3 separate regions of the Homo sapiens genome follow, and all the other regions are linked to region 3. Evidence: promoter capture Hi-C in 16 types of primary human blood cells and fetal thymus (Javierre and others, 2016). All regions are on one chromosome and are shown on one strand. Each heading gives the region's core, a stretch centred on a gene start or on the middle of the fragment in contact. The rest is flanking DNA. Distances are from core to core; before and after follow the strand shown.

Region 1 (4,676 bases), core at 2,092-4,591, 400 kb after region 3:
AAAAAAAAAAAAAAAACAAAAAGATTGGGCACAGTGGCTCACACCTGTAATCGCAACACTTTGGGAGACCGAGGCAGGTGGATCACCTGAGGTCAGGAGTTCAAGACCAGCCTGGCCAACATGGTGAAACCTCATCTCTACTAAAAATATAAAAATTAGCTGGGCATGGTGGTGCACACCTGTAATCCCAGCTACTCGGGAGGCTGAGGCAGGAGAATTGCTTGAACCCAGGAGGCGGAGGTTACAGTGAGCCGAGATCGTACCATTGCACTCCAGCCTGGGTGACAGAGCAAGACTCCGTCTCAAAAAAACAAACAGAAATCATGACATCGTATTATTTTTCTTCCATTCACAGAAGAGAATTCTCTCTGCAATGTCTGTAATAGTGAATGGAGCTCATTTCCCGTTTTAAAATAGTGCTGAGTCTGCCCCATTCAACAACTCCTCGCCGCCCAGAAGGGAAGGTGCCGGCCTGACCGCCTGGCAGGAATGACACCCATGTGTCACCTTGCTTCCGCCACCAGCCGTCCCTGCAGCCTAGAGAGGAGAGAGGTTCCAGCACCCAGAAGAGATTTCCTTGATGTGTTATAATTTTCCTTTTTCCTGGGGCCTGGCTTAAGATTTTGGAATACAGAACAAACACTGGCTGGCATGTAGGAAGTGCTGCCTGTGTGACAGGCATGGGGCAAGCACTTTGTGGTTCTTACCTGTCTCACCTGCTCTAAATGGCACTGAGGCCAGGCCAGTGGTTCCCGGGCTTTTCTTCCATTATTGCTCCTGGATTAGGGTCTTGGGGTTACTGAAATAAAACACCACTGGCTGGTGATTTAGTGTAACCAAAACACACTGAAACACAGCTCTGTGGCCAGAAGTTGAAATCAAGGTGTGAGCAGGGCCAGGCTCCGTCTCCCAGTTTCTGGGTGTTACTGGCAGCCCCGGGCGTTCCTTGACTCGCAGACGCATCCCTGCCTTGGTCTCTCACACCAAGCTCTGTCTCTGTCACGAGGTGCTCCCCGCCACGCCTCTGCGCAGCGTTTTCCTCTTTTTTTTTTTTTTTTGAGACGGAGTCTCGCTCTGTTGCCCAGGCTGGAGTGCACTGGCTTGATCTCCGCTCACTGCAACCTCCGCCTCCCAGGTTCAAGCGATTCTCCTGCCTCAGCCTCCCAAGTAGCTGGGACTACAGGCGCCTGCCACCACGCCTGGCTAACTTTTTGTATTTTTAGTAGAGACAGGGTTTCACCATGTTAGTCAGGATGGTCTTGATCTCCTCACCCCGTGATCCACCCGCCTCGGCTGCCCAAAGTCCTGGGATTACAGGCATGAGCCACCATGCCCGGCCTTCCTCCTCTTATATCCAGTCATGTTGGCTTAGGGCCAACCCTAATAGCCTCAAATTGACGATATCTGCAAAGGCGCTATTCCAAATCAGGTCACATTCAGAGGTTCCGAGGTTAGGACTTCAACATATCTTTTGTGGGGTACAATTCAACCCCACTAAGGAGATGGTTTAGGCATTTCTTCCCTAATCACCCCACTCCCTCCCCATGAAATTTAATATGGTAGATACACTGTATTGTACGCATATCTGCACTTTCTACGTAAAAGGAGTAGTTTTTTGTGCCCCTGCTGCACCGCATTTTCACCCCCTGTGGGACAGTGGGATGCATGGGTCATGACTGGTTTACACCTGGGGAAACTGAGATTCTGAGTTGTCACATCACTGATCCAAAAGCCACCAAAGAGCAACAAAGGGCCAGGCTGGCAAGGACCCCAGGCTGTGGACGGGGGGCTGGCAAGGACCCCATGTTCTGGACGCAGGGCTGTCTCACTGACTCAGGGGGTTCCGTCTGAGAAATTGCTACACCTTCAAGTCTGAAACATTCCTCCCGGCAGAAACACTGCAGGTTTGTTTCTAAGCAGATTTCAGATAGAAGCTGTTGCAAAGACCGTCTTGTCTGCCCTTCAGCCAAGAGAAGAGACTTTTTTTTTTTTTTCTAGGTGGGACATTCCAAGAGAAATGGCCTTTTTTCTATGTGCTAAATGCTTGGATTTCTTATCTGCCAGAGGTGGTTTGAACAATGAATAATTTAAATGGACTGAGCTTTGTATAGAGATTGGCTTCGGATGACTCACTAAAAATGTGTCATTTTATTATGCTAGATGGACTTAAGTGATATTAAAAATTCATATATAAGAAAAAAAGAGATTCCATTCAGTTCAGAGCAGAAGTGGATGGCGGTGAAATGCAGTCTGAAGACTGAGGTGAGACCTTTCAATCTTCAACCTCTTCTCTCTTTCTGCCCGGGCCCCCACCCAGAGATAAAGCAAAATGCAGACTTCAAGGATAATTTGAAAGTTCCTGGCTGCTTCTGTGACGTTCCAAATACATGGAAAAACTTAATCACCATCATACCTTTGATTCTCTTGGGTCTGCTTCTGGCTTTTTGTTTAAAACAGAAGTTCTTAAAGCAGGGTCCCTGGAGTAGCAGCGGTTGTTACCACGCGAGACTTTATTAGAAATGCAGAATCTCAGGTTCCATGCCAGACCTCCTGAGTCGAAGGGTCCAGGGGTGGGACCCAGTAACCTTCATTTTCTGCAGATTCTGATGCAGGTGCAAATGTTGAGATCGACCAGCCTGTAATCCAGTGACTGAGGCCCTGCTGCTAACACCAGTCGCCAACTTGCCAGTCCTCTCTTTGCAGCCCTGTGCTAAGTTTTTTATACTTCTTAGCTCATCTCCCCGTCATACTGGGGAGCAAATCCTTCAGTACGGAAGGCGTGTCTGTGTGGTGCATCAGCGTGTGCACACGTGTTGTCCCTGGCTAGAGGAACACATACCAAGCTATGGCCACCCCGGGTGGACATTACAGCTGATTTTTAAAATTTTCTTTTCAGATTTGTTGTGGCTTTTCAGATTTTCCTTAAAAGCTATTTTTTAAAGTTTTTGTTGCCTTCTACCGTTTTCTCCACCCCTCCTCTTCCCTCCCACTCTTTCTAGAATCTATCATGTCTGCCCACGCAGACTGCTCAGCTCCCACTCAGGGCTGTGGGCAGCTCAGCCAGCTCATGCCAGGCCCTTCCTGTGCATGGATGGACACATGTACATTTCAGGGGCTTAGAAGGGATTATAGATTTTCAAAAAACTTTTAGACCTTTAAATCTTTTCCCTTGCAAGGCAATGGTAATATATTCTCATTGAAAAAGTATAGAAATATGACATAAAAATGAAAGCTTCTTTCATTCCACCCTTCTTCCCTCCCTCCCCACCACCCACCCAGAGGTAATTCTATTTTAAGTCTGGGATGGAGCATTGCAGATTTTAAATATGCAAACGACAACATCTGGATGGTATTTTCAAAACAAGGTCACTATTTATAGTGTGTGTAATTTGCTTTTTCCCCCTAAGATTTTCTTTTAATATTATGTCTTAGATGTCTGTGTTGGTTAATATAAGCTTGTTATATTAACATATTAATTATATAATATGTAATATATATTACATATATTACATATATTATTTAATATATATTATGTAATATATATTATAATTGTATAAGAATATATTAGTTATATATAATATATAATATACATATAAATAATATAATGTAATATAATACATATAAATAATATACAATACATATGTACTATAATTAATGTATTAACATCTGTAATTAATATTATATTTATTAATAACATTAATATGTTAATTACATATTAATAACATATATAATTAATATTATATTATCTTATAACAGTGTTACATTCACACTGTGCACCCACGTGAGCCAGGTATGTCCGGTATTGAGGCTAGGGGTACAGTGTGACTCTCACTGACCCAGGGCCTCCCCCCGTGGAGTTCATAGTCTACATGTTTGTCATGACAGAGCTTAAGAAAAACACAGGAAAAATGATCAGCTACTCATGTGGCTTCACTATTACAAGCCAAGTGCTGGGGGTGGGTACAAAATAGACTTGGTGCTGCCCTAGGGAGGCAACAGTCTAATGGAAATATTCCCAGTTAATCACACCCCCAAAGGCACAGTCCCAGCTGGGATGATACCTCCCGTGCATGAAACATACAAGACGCTCTGAGTGACCATAACAAGGGAACTGAAAAAAGAACAAGGGTAGTACAGGTTGAAGATTGGCCTTGTTCTTTCTCTGGACTGCAAAACGTTCCATGGATGGATTCTAGAACTTCGCGAACCTGTCCAGCACCTGTGAACAGCACCAGCCTATGATAAATAACTCCGCTGCAAAGATCCCCGTGTGTGTCTTTGTAACCTTGTGCAGAGTGGGGTGATGGTCAGTATGAACCAAGGCTTCCAGTGATAGTGGATTTCTTCCCTTTGTCTTTTCTAAGGATCAGGAAGACATTTACTTCATGAAAGGGGCCTTGGAAGAGGTGATCCGCTACTGCACCATGTACAACAACGGGGGCATCCCCCTGCCGCTGACGCCCCAGCAGAGGTCATTCTGCCTGCAGGAAGAGAAGAGGATGGGGTCGCTCGGTTTGCGGGGTCAGTGCCTGTGGTCCCGGCCCAGAGCTTTAAGCTTGCATGTAACATTGACTTTTAAGTGCATTCAAGCAGGGTCCCTAGTCAAGGAGGTCACCCGTCCCAAGGAGTCAGGCAGCATGCTGACGGCAATAATGTGTGCTTGGAACCTGATGGTC
Region 2 (5,003 bases), core at 66-2,565, 420 kb after region 3:
GGTCAGAGTGGACCCCTGCCAGGGTTCCAGGCAGAGTCCAAAGTCCTCCATAGTAGGATTCACAGCCTGGGAAGAAGCCCCTCTCTGGCTACAACCTGTGACACCAGGGCCACAGGAGGAGATGCAGCGATGGGCCATTCCTAGTGAGACACAGACACAGGGCTGGCTGGAGAAGAAACCTTTTGAGCTGTGGGGCTGTCTTCCTAGAAGCTGCCAACCCCTGGAACCACTAAGAGGTCAAGGCTGAAGTGTGCCACTTCCACAGTCTGCTAAGGAGTGCCTCCCCCTGAGTCAGGGACAATTCTTGCTCTACTTTTCAGGATCCTTGGGCACACTGCTGGCCCGAGACATTTACTTCCCATTTAAAATTAAGTAATCAAAATACCAGGGTCGATTACTCTGAACTCTTGCTTATGTAAACTTTAGGGATAAAACTGTAGTAAGACACAAAATGCTAACAATAAAATATAAATTAGACTACATTAAAACTAAGACCTTCTTTTCATTAAGGACACAGTAGACTTGAACACCACCATTAAGCAACTTAGCTTGATTTACACTTGTAGAACACCCCATTCACGAGTAGCATAGAAACAGTCACCAAAATAAAGAGCAGAAATCAAACGAAAAAGCAAAAATAGAGGAAAATCAATCAAAACCTAGTTTTTCGAAGAGATCAATAAAACTATCAGTCTTGCAATAAGCTTATCAAAGAAAAAAGGGAAGAGAAATGACCAATGTCAGGAATGAAAAAGTATATCACCACAAACCCTTCAAGATATTCCAACAATAATAATAAATAATACTATGTACATCTTTATGTACCTAAATTCAATCAATTGGATGAAATAAACCAATTGCTTGAAAACCAAAAACTACCAAAACTCACTGAAGATTAAATAGATAAGCTGAAGTTGAAACCCTTCCAAAAAAGGCAGTTTCTGAAGCCAGATGATTTCACTGGTGAATTTTACTAAACTTGTAAAGAAATGGCAATTCGATACACTGAATTCCAAAAATAAAAGGGGACCGAGCACTTCTCATTTTATAAGGTCAACAATCACTCTGATACCAAAACTAGAGAAAAATACTAGAGACCAACATCCCTTATGAATATATGCACGAAAATCCTCAACAAAATATGAGGAAATCAGATCTAGCCAGGTACGAAGAATATAAGACACCAGGACGAAGTGGGGTTAATTGAGGAATGGAATTCAAGCATTCCAAAGTTCAACATTCAAAACCAATATAACTGAAAAGTTCAACATTCAAAAACCAATATAACTCACTATATTAATAGTCTGAAGAAGGAAAAACACATGGTTATATCAATTAATGCAGAAAAGGCATTTGATAAAATTCAATCTCCATTTGTAATAAAAACTCTCAAACTAGGAATTGAAGGAAACTTCTTCAACCTGATAAAGAACATCTACAAAAAACCTATAGCTAACATCATACTTAATGATGAAAAACTGAATTCTTTCCCCACAGGATAAGGTCCAAGGGTGACCAGCCTCACCACTCCTATTCAGCACAGTATTAGAAGTCCTAGCCAGTGTAATATGGCAAGAAAAGTTAAAAGGCATTAGCAAAGAGCCTGGAAAGGAGAAAATCACAGATAACGTAATTGTCCACACAGAAAATCCCAACAAATCTTTTTAAAAAAGAAAAACCCTCGTAGAATCAACGAGTTTAGTAAAGCCACAAGATACAAGGTTAACACACAAAAAGCAGTCGTATTTCTATATATTAGCAATGAACAACTGGAAACTGAAATTTAAAATTGAATACTATTTGTCTGTCTCAAAAAAAAGTATCAATTCTCCCGAGATTGTTGTATTAGGTTTAACACAATTACCATCAAAATCCCAGGGTTTTTTTGTTTTTGTTTTTTTTTAAGACACAGATAAACTTGTTCTAACAAGCTTGGTATGATATTGTTATCAGCAGACCTATTTCAATTTCACTGGTTTTTACATAGTATCTGATGTTAGGCAAACCTGAGTTTAAGGGCACAGTGCTCCAGGTGGCTGGCCAAGTCTGCCCAGGCCTTCTGATACTGACTGCAGGTCCAAGAGTTTCCCACAACCACCTTCAGGTTGGATGATTCGTTGATGAGGCACACAGAGCTCACTGACACCTGTCATGCTCACAGCCATGTCTATTACCAGGAAAAGATACAGATTAGAACAGCCCCAGGGCTGCAACTGCAGAGACTGGTCACCCTCTCCCTCTGAGCTCAACAGTTTCTGAGTCCTGAGTCTTTCTAGCCAATCACTGGGTCTGAGAGTGGTTTCCTGCCCCCCACAACACAAGTTCTATGAAATTGTATGACACACATCAATTCAGGTAACCACTGCTACAATGAGGAGGCAAAACTTCCATCGCCCCTGAAAAACTCCTCCTTACTTTTTATAGTAACACCCTCCTAATCCCAGCAACCTCTAATCCCTTCTTCATCACCATAATGTTGTTCCTTCAATACTGTTACATAAATGGAATCATGGTATAGAACCTTTTAAGACTGGCTTTTGTCACTAAGCATAATACCTGTAAGGTCCCTTCAAGTTGTTTTATGTGTGTTCTTCTTCATGGCTGACTAGTATTCCACTGCATGGATGTACCACAATTTCTTTATCCACTCACTCATGGAGTGACAGAAACTCCTGTACAATTTTTGGAAGTCTATATGAATCTAAAATTATTTCAAAGTGTGTAAGAAGATAAGATATACTCATAGGGCAAAAATACACCAGGTAAAGACAAACAACACACAAGACCAAGGTGACACAGTCTAATCAGACAAGATTAAAAGAAAGGCCAAAAGCATTAAAGGAGACCAAGAAGGAAATTTAACAAGATATAATCACCACTGAAAAATCCATAGGCCAGACTATGTACCAACACAACATTCAAATTTAAAGAGGAAACAGTATGGGAAATTCAGGCAAAGGATACAGAAAATTCATTATATTAACTTACCACATGAAAGGACACAAAACCTCAGTGATTCCAAAGAGTAGATCTAATATAGATGACTTCTTGGTCGGGCATGGTGGCTCAGACCTGTAATCCCAGAACTTTGGGAGGCCGAGGCGGTTGGATCACTTGAGGTAAGGAGTTTGAGACCAGCCTGGGCAACATAGCGAAACCCCATCTCTACTAAAAATACAAAAATTAGCTGGGCATGGTGGTGGGCGCCTGTAATCCCAGGCTACTCGGGAGGCTGAGGCAGGAGAATCGCTTGAACCTGGGAGGCAGAGGTAGCAGTGAGCTGAGATCACACCATGGCACTCCAGCCTGGGCAATGAAGTGAGGCTCTGTCTTAAAAAAATAATAATACAGATGACATCTCTAATCACTATGCAATCTAATTTAAAGACGAGTGACAGGACTAGGGGAAATTCTCTAGCACAGCAAAATTTAAAAACTCTTGGGTACAAGAGAAAATCAAAATGAAGGCCACAGAAAATCTAGAAGCTTATGATCAACACACACCTATCTATACAATACTGCAAAATAACTCAGGGCCCAAGAAAAAAGTAATAGCTTTATGTATTCATCTACTTCCATTATTTTTTATTTAGTAAAATAACTCAAAAAACTGAAAAAAAAAAACTGAAGAAAAGCAGGAATAATATAAAAGCAAAATTAGTAACTGAATCCAATCTAGGAAAATGAAAACACAAGAAAAGGAAAAAAAACATAACTACAAAAGAGTTTCAATACTTTGGGGTCAATATTACATAAAGTAATTTGAAGACTTCCAGCAGAGATTTAAAACAATCCAATGGTAAAAGAAATGGATAAGGTTGTCAAGAGTTAATCCCATCCTCACCTACATCATCAGAAGCAGGAATGCAGACCTGCAATATGCATTTTAAGAAGCTCTCTAGGCAAATCTGATGCATGCTCAAGCGGGGAGAACTACTGGATAAAAGAGGTCAGTAAGAGGCCTGGAACGGTGGTTCATGCCTGGAATCCCAGCACTTTGGGAGGCTGTGGTGGGTGGATTGCTTGAGCTCAGGGGTTTGAGACCAACCTGGGCAACATGGCGAAACCACCTCTACAAAAAACACGAAATTTAGCTGGGAGTGGTGGTGTGCATCTGTAGTCCCAGCTACTCGGGAGGCTGAGGTGGGAGGATTGCTTGACTCTGGAGGCAGAGGCTGAAATGAGTTGAGGTCATGTCACTGCATTCCAGCCTGGATAATAGAGCAAGACCCTGTCTCAAAAAAAAAAAACAAACAAAAAAAAAAACCGGCACGGTGTCTCACGCCTGTAATCCTGGCACTTTGGGAGGTTGAGGTGGGTAGATCACAAGGTCAGGAGATTGAGACCATCCTGGCCAACATGGTGAAACCTCATCTCTACTAAAATACAAAACATCAGCCAGGCATGGTGGTTGCACACCTGTAGTCCCAGCCACTCGGAAGGCTGAGGCAGGAGAACTGCTTGAACCCAGGACGCGGAGATTGCAGTGAGCCAAGATCACGCTACTGCACTCCAGCCTGGATGACAGAGCAAGATTCCATCTCAAAAAGAAAAAAAAAAAAAAAAGAATTCAGTAAGGTAACTGGGAATAAAAACTACAAAAATCAAGAGCTTCCTATGTTAAAATAACCATCACTTAGGAAAAAATGTCCACTGACAGTCCCAGAAATGACAATAAAAATTTACCTAAGAAGCTAGATGTCCCTGTTCTTGGATAGAAGCATCAACGTTAGCCAAATGTCAGCATTAAATATACATTAACATAGGCAGAACCATTTGGAAAGTACTATCCTATTTTTTAGAAGTGGTCACAGTGCAAAGGTCGGAGAAAATAAGCAGCCAAGCATTTGCCGAAAAATTCCAAAAAACAGTAGTAAGAGAAAAACGGCTCTTACATATTTTTATCACCAAATTCCAGCAATTAAAACATGAGAGAGACCTCAATTCATACAGAAACTCAGCTGATGACAAAGTATCATTAGAAGTCAATGGGAAAAGACAAA
Region 3 (4,704 bases), core at 1,728-4,227:
TCCCTGGAGGACAGGGTCACAAGAGGGACTGAGCCTCCAGGCAGCAGAACCGCAAGGAGCCCCGGTCGCCATGCCAGACCCAGCCCCTCCACAGCTCCCAAGAGGGGATTTGCCCGTTTTCATCAAATGTCTCCCATCCAAGTACTAATCGCGCCCGACCCTGCTTAGCTCCTGAGATCAGATGAGATCAGGTGCGTTCAAGGTGGTATGGCCCTAGACTGTTTTCATCAAATGGCACTAAACCGCCAACCCTAACGCGTCAGGCTTCCAACCTCTGCCCACTGACTTCACATTTAAACGCTCCCCATGCAGAAGCCTCACCAGCTAAGTGGAGGATAGCAGCCTCCCCCAAATCTTCCATCATTCACAGTGACATCACTCCAGCCCCAACTCCATCTCCCCGGTAGCCCTGGAGGCTAAAAGGAACAACTTGGGGTGGCGGGAGCGTGTCAAGAGCCAGGCTGGCTCCTCTGCTCTGCCATGAGTTTCCATTTATTCACCTCAGGGTTCCCTTCTCCTCAAGTCTGCTGAGTGAAGGGATCTGGAGCTCATCCTAAGCAAAACAAAACAGCTGTTTCCCCAGAAGCAAGTCACAAATGTGGTCTCAGGCCCACCCAGCCCTGCAGGGCCAGCATCTGCATTTCAGCAAGATCTGTGTGAAATGCCTGCACGGTGCTTGTGGAACAGGGTTCCCACTCTCTGGCTCATGGCCATTCCTGCTGCCCGGGGATTGGCCACAACCCTACCCCCAAGCCCCACCTGCCCTCTGTGGCTTGAGATGGGGCTTCTCCCTCACTGCTGTAATGGCAGGCTTCCTGACACACTAGTCCAAACGCAGGCGTGCTGCCCCGTCACGTGCACCTCAGGAAGCTCTTACCATTTCCAGTGGGGCTCAGCGCAAAGGTCACCTCCTCCGAGAGGCTTCCGACCACGCCATGTCATATCATCCCCCGATCCCCAGAGACACATGACCCTCCCGGCATGATCCACCATCTGAAGCTGATGACATGCATCTTGTCTGACTTCCCATTAAAACAAAGCTCCATGAGGACAGGGACCACACTGCGTCATCCATCCTAGGCCAGGCACGGGGCAGGAGCTCGGCCAACGCCAGGGGTGTCATGGGTTACACCCGACACTAGTTTCCAAACAGACCCGAAGAGCCTCAGGGCACACAAACGGTTGGAACTCAGCCATTATCCACCAGCTGCCGTAAGACGTGTGAGAAAAAGCCGGCCAAAGAGCTTACCACAAAATGCAGCAATTCATTCCATCAGCCAGCGGCAAAGGATCTTAGAAAATAAAGCTGTGCTCATCAGTGGCTCTCCCGCAGCAAAGAGAAGAGCGCGGCGTCCGCGCTTCCCCAAAAGGGAATTCTGGCTTTGCACCCGGCAGGCAGGAGAGCGGAACATCCGACACCAGGCAAGGCCGGCCCGGCTCTGTGTGGGGAGTGTGGGAGTGTCACACCAGTTTTAGGCTCAATCTGCACACAGGAGTCGAGCTTTGTTTTTGTGTGTTTAAGACAGAGTCTCACTCCGTCGCCCAGGCTGGAGCGCACAGTCTCAGCTCACTGCAACCTCCGCCTCCCAGGTTCAAGCGATTCTCCTGACTCCACCTCCTGAGTAACTTGGATTACAGGCGCCCGCCACCACGCCCCGCTAATTTTTGTATTTCCAGTAGAGACAGGGTTTCACCATATGGGCCAGGCTGGTCTCAAACTCCTGACCTCAGGTGATCCGTCCACCTTGGCCTCCCAAAGGGCTGCGATTATAGGCACGAGCCACCGTGCCCGGCCCAGCTTTAGTTTTTGAGCTAAGACCAGCAGGCAAGAAAGAGCAGCTGGCCAGGCAGGGCGCCCAGAGAGGTTCCTTCCCAGGTGAAATGCCCACTTCACAGACAGAGCTGCGATGCCTGTAGCTCCATCCCGGAAGCTGTGTATCAGATGCCACCAGCGCCCACGGGGGATATTCTCATCCCAGGGCTACAGTGGGATTATCTTCTCCCCTCATTAGCTGAGCGGGATAGAAAATAAAACCCCGAAGCTATAGCTTACAGGACACGCAACTCCGCAGAAGCAATGCGAGGAACCCCACCCAGAAAAGCCAAAGCCACCTCGTACCCGTCCCCAGGACTCACTTCCCGGGGACTTACCAGCTCCACCAGGAAGGCAGGGACCACTCCGCCCGCTTTGGAGAAGGCCCAGGGGAAGTTGAGCAGGCCAGCTCCCAGCGCGGACTTCATGAGGATGAAGACAGCGCCCATCGAGGACAGAGTGGCAGCAGCCGTGGCAGGGTGAGGCTTTTCTGGAAGGCCCCTGCTTCCTGGGGTCTGTCCCTCCATGGCTAGAGGCGGCAGAGGGGTGGAGAGAAAGCACAGTCTTCACGCTTTCCTCCCTAAGTTCTCGATATCCTTATTTGTCTCCCCAACTCAGTGAGAGCTCCCTGAGCCGCTCCTGCCCGCTTCCTTGGCGTCAGCTCCCCCTTTCCAAAGGGTGCTGCATGCATCTGCCCACGACTTCTAGTCCCCCTTCGTCTCCCATTCCCTACCCACATTATTCTCACTCCTGCCCTCCCACTAGACCCCAAGGCAACCTCACCCCTTCCCCCTCCCTCTCTTCTCCCAAACCCCCAACCTTCCTCATCCCCATCAATCCTCTCTCCCCCCATTCCCATCCACTCCCTTTGCTTCCAGCCAAACTTCTGTACAAACAGACCCCCAGTTCCTGGTCCTTACCACCAAATCCAACTTTTAAGGTGCCGGACAGTCTTTGGCTGTTGGGGATGGGACTCGGGCTTACTCCAGGTGGCTCAGTTGCATTTCTTGGGGCCAGAGGGGTGGGAGAAGCAAGATTCGAGCTTGGCCAGGGGTGAGTGAGTCATTAACTAAAGGAGCCCTAGCGAGTATGTGTCAGGGTCAGGCCCCTCCACACCTAAGAGGACAGCAACAAGTGGTCAGGGCCATGGGTCCCAAGAATTTGCAGCTTTTGAGACTTCTGACCTGAGCAAGGAAGGCTTAAGACTCCCGCCTCTCCCCAGCCCCCTGCAGGCCCGGCCCCGGGGGTGGAGCTTTCTCAGCTGCCCTGGAGGGTGACAGGGAGCTCAGCTGGGAGCCACACGGGGCAGGGGAGCAGGCACCATGATCTCATGGCAGCTTCTGCAGCGCCTCCATCCTCACATACCTCTCCAAGGTCCCCAGCCCAACGGAGGGGGCGTGAAAAGTGCCCTGAGCCCAGCCTCCTCCTCTGCAGAACAGGCTCCACCGTCCGCAGGTGCTGCCTCCTAGGTGGTTTCCTTTACCTCCTCCACCCAACTCCAGCAGGTGCGTCTCAGAGCTAATCCCATGCACACGAGTCACCTGAGACGGGGCTTGTTGAACGCTTGGGGGAGGCGGCGGCTGCTGGTCCCTAGGCCACGCTTGAGTGATGACACATCTCTCCAAACTGATACGGGGTCAGCTAAGGGGACAGAATATCGGAGACGGCCCCATTCCGGAAAATGCTGGCACATGCAGCTCAGATCCGGAATTTGACTGTTTATTCCTGGAACCCAGGCTCCCTCTCACCCGCATTCTCGAACTCCAGTTTGCATCAGAATCCACTGGAAGGCTTGTTCAAACACAGAACACCAGGCCCCAGCCCCTGTTTCTGACTGAGTGTCTCCGGGGCGGGGTCTGGGCACCTGCCTTTCTAACGGGTTCCCAGGTGACTCCAATGCCGCTGGTTCGGCCCCTCGCTGAGAAGCACTGCTTTCAGTTAAATATCCTCAATGCCCAGAACCCCTCCCCCCGCTGCATCTAATCAGTCCTTATCTGTCCGACACCAGATCAGCCCCAAAGGCTTCTTTTTGATGTGGTTTCTAATGGTCTCAACCCCCGACTCCTGTTACCTCCTGATGAGCAGGCAGGTTCCAAACTCTGTGGCTCACACAATGGCTGCTCCATAAATGCCCAACCAGCAGAGTCAGTGGCTGGCTTCTCAGCAGGGGCAAGTGAAAGGGAGCCGGGATTGCAGTCCCGGAGCTCAAGGCTGGACAATGACCCGGATGACATTCACGCCACTGCTGCATAAATGTGCTGCTGAGAACCTAGCCTGGATGAGTTCACGCGGATTCCTGAGCGGGTGTCCCCACTGTTCCCCCCAACTCCCACCCCGCACCAAGCAGGAACTCGGCTCAGGCAGGTGGAGCACGTGGCTCAGAGCATCACAGCTGGCAAGCAACAAGGCTGGGATTCACCCTGAGTCAGGCTCCTTTCAGAGGCTGTAATGTCACACGGCCTCCTGCCCCACAAGGACTCTGACAGTGCCTGAATGAGTGTGTGAGAGAATGAATGAATGAATGAATGAATACACAAATGCCAGAAAAGAGAGGAAAGGAAACGTCGTTTGATTGTTCCCCTGTATTACGCTCCTGAGGCTGCCAACACAGACTCAGGGGCTTAGAACAATAGAAAGTTATTCTGTCATGGTCTTGAAGGTCAGAAGTTGGTCAAGGTATCAATGGGGACATGCTCCCTCTGGAGGCCATGGAGGGCGGATCCTTCCTGCCTCTTCCAGCTCCTGGGGGCCTAGGCACTCCCTGGCTTGTGACTGCATTGCTGCCGTCTCTGCCAGCATCATCTTCCCAAGCTTTCTCCTCTGTGTCTTCTCTTTTCAGAAAGGCCCACCCAGATAATCCAAGATGATCCCATCTCAAGATCGTTACTTAT

What was found. The method cuts DNA at HindIII sites, captures the fragments that hold promoters and counts their contacts. A CHiCAGO score of 5 or more calls a contact.
Region 1: a contact is called between a fragment that was not itself captured here and the fragment with the promoter of SLC38A8 in region 3, in 3 of 17 cell types (naive CD4 T cells, M2 macrophages and M1 macrophages). The highest score is 5.6, in naive CD4 T cells.
Region 2: a contact is called between a fragment that was not itself captured here and the fragment with the promoter of SLC38A8 in region 3, in 2 of 17 cell types (M2 macrophages and M1 macrophages). The highest score is 7.1, in M2 macrophages.

What each region holds. Positions count from the first base shown.
Region 1 is chr16:84,444,169-84,448,844 of GRCh38, forward strand. ATP2C2 (ATPase secretory pathway Ca2+ transporting 2) reads left to right here. Exons shown (of 27, transcript NM_014861.4): 16 at 2,161-2,262; 17 at 4,365-4,521. Among named protein-coding and RNA genes, the nearest start is that of ATP2C2-AS1, 21 kb to the right of the region's middle. The HindIII fragment of the contact is 223 bases long and covers 3,231-3,453 here.
Region 2 is chr16:84,465,298-84,470,300 of GRCh38, forward strand. ATP2C2-AS1 (ATP2C2 antisense RNA 1) reads right to left here and starts at 2,064. Exons shown (of 3, transcript NR_146503.1): 1 at 2,007-2,064. The HindIII fragment of the contact is 1,227 bases long and covers 703-1,929 here.
Region 3 is chr16:84,039,818-84,044,521 of GRCh38, forward strand. It overlaps SLC38A8 (solute carrier family 38 member 8), which reads right to left and starts at 2,978. Exons shown (of 11, transcript NM_001080442.3): 1 at 2,734-2,978; 2 at 2,152-2,342. The coding sequence starts at 2,340. It also overlaps the pseudogene RNA5SP432. RefSeq lists enhancers at 1,732-2,436, 2,437-3,140, 3,141-3,845, 3,846-4,549. The HindIII fragment of the contact is 8,642 bases long and covers 1-4,622 here.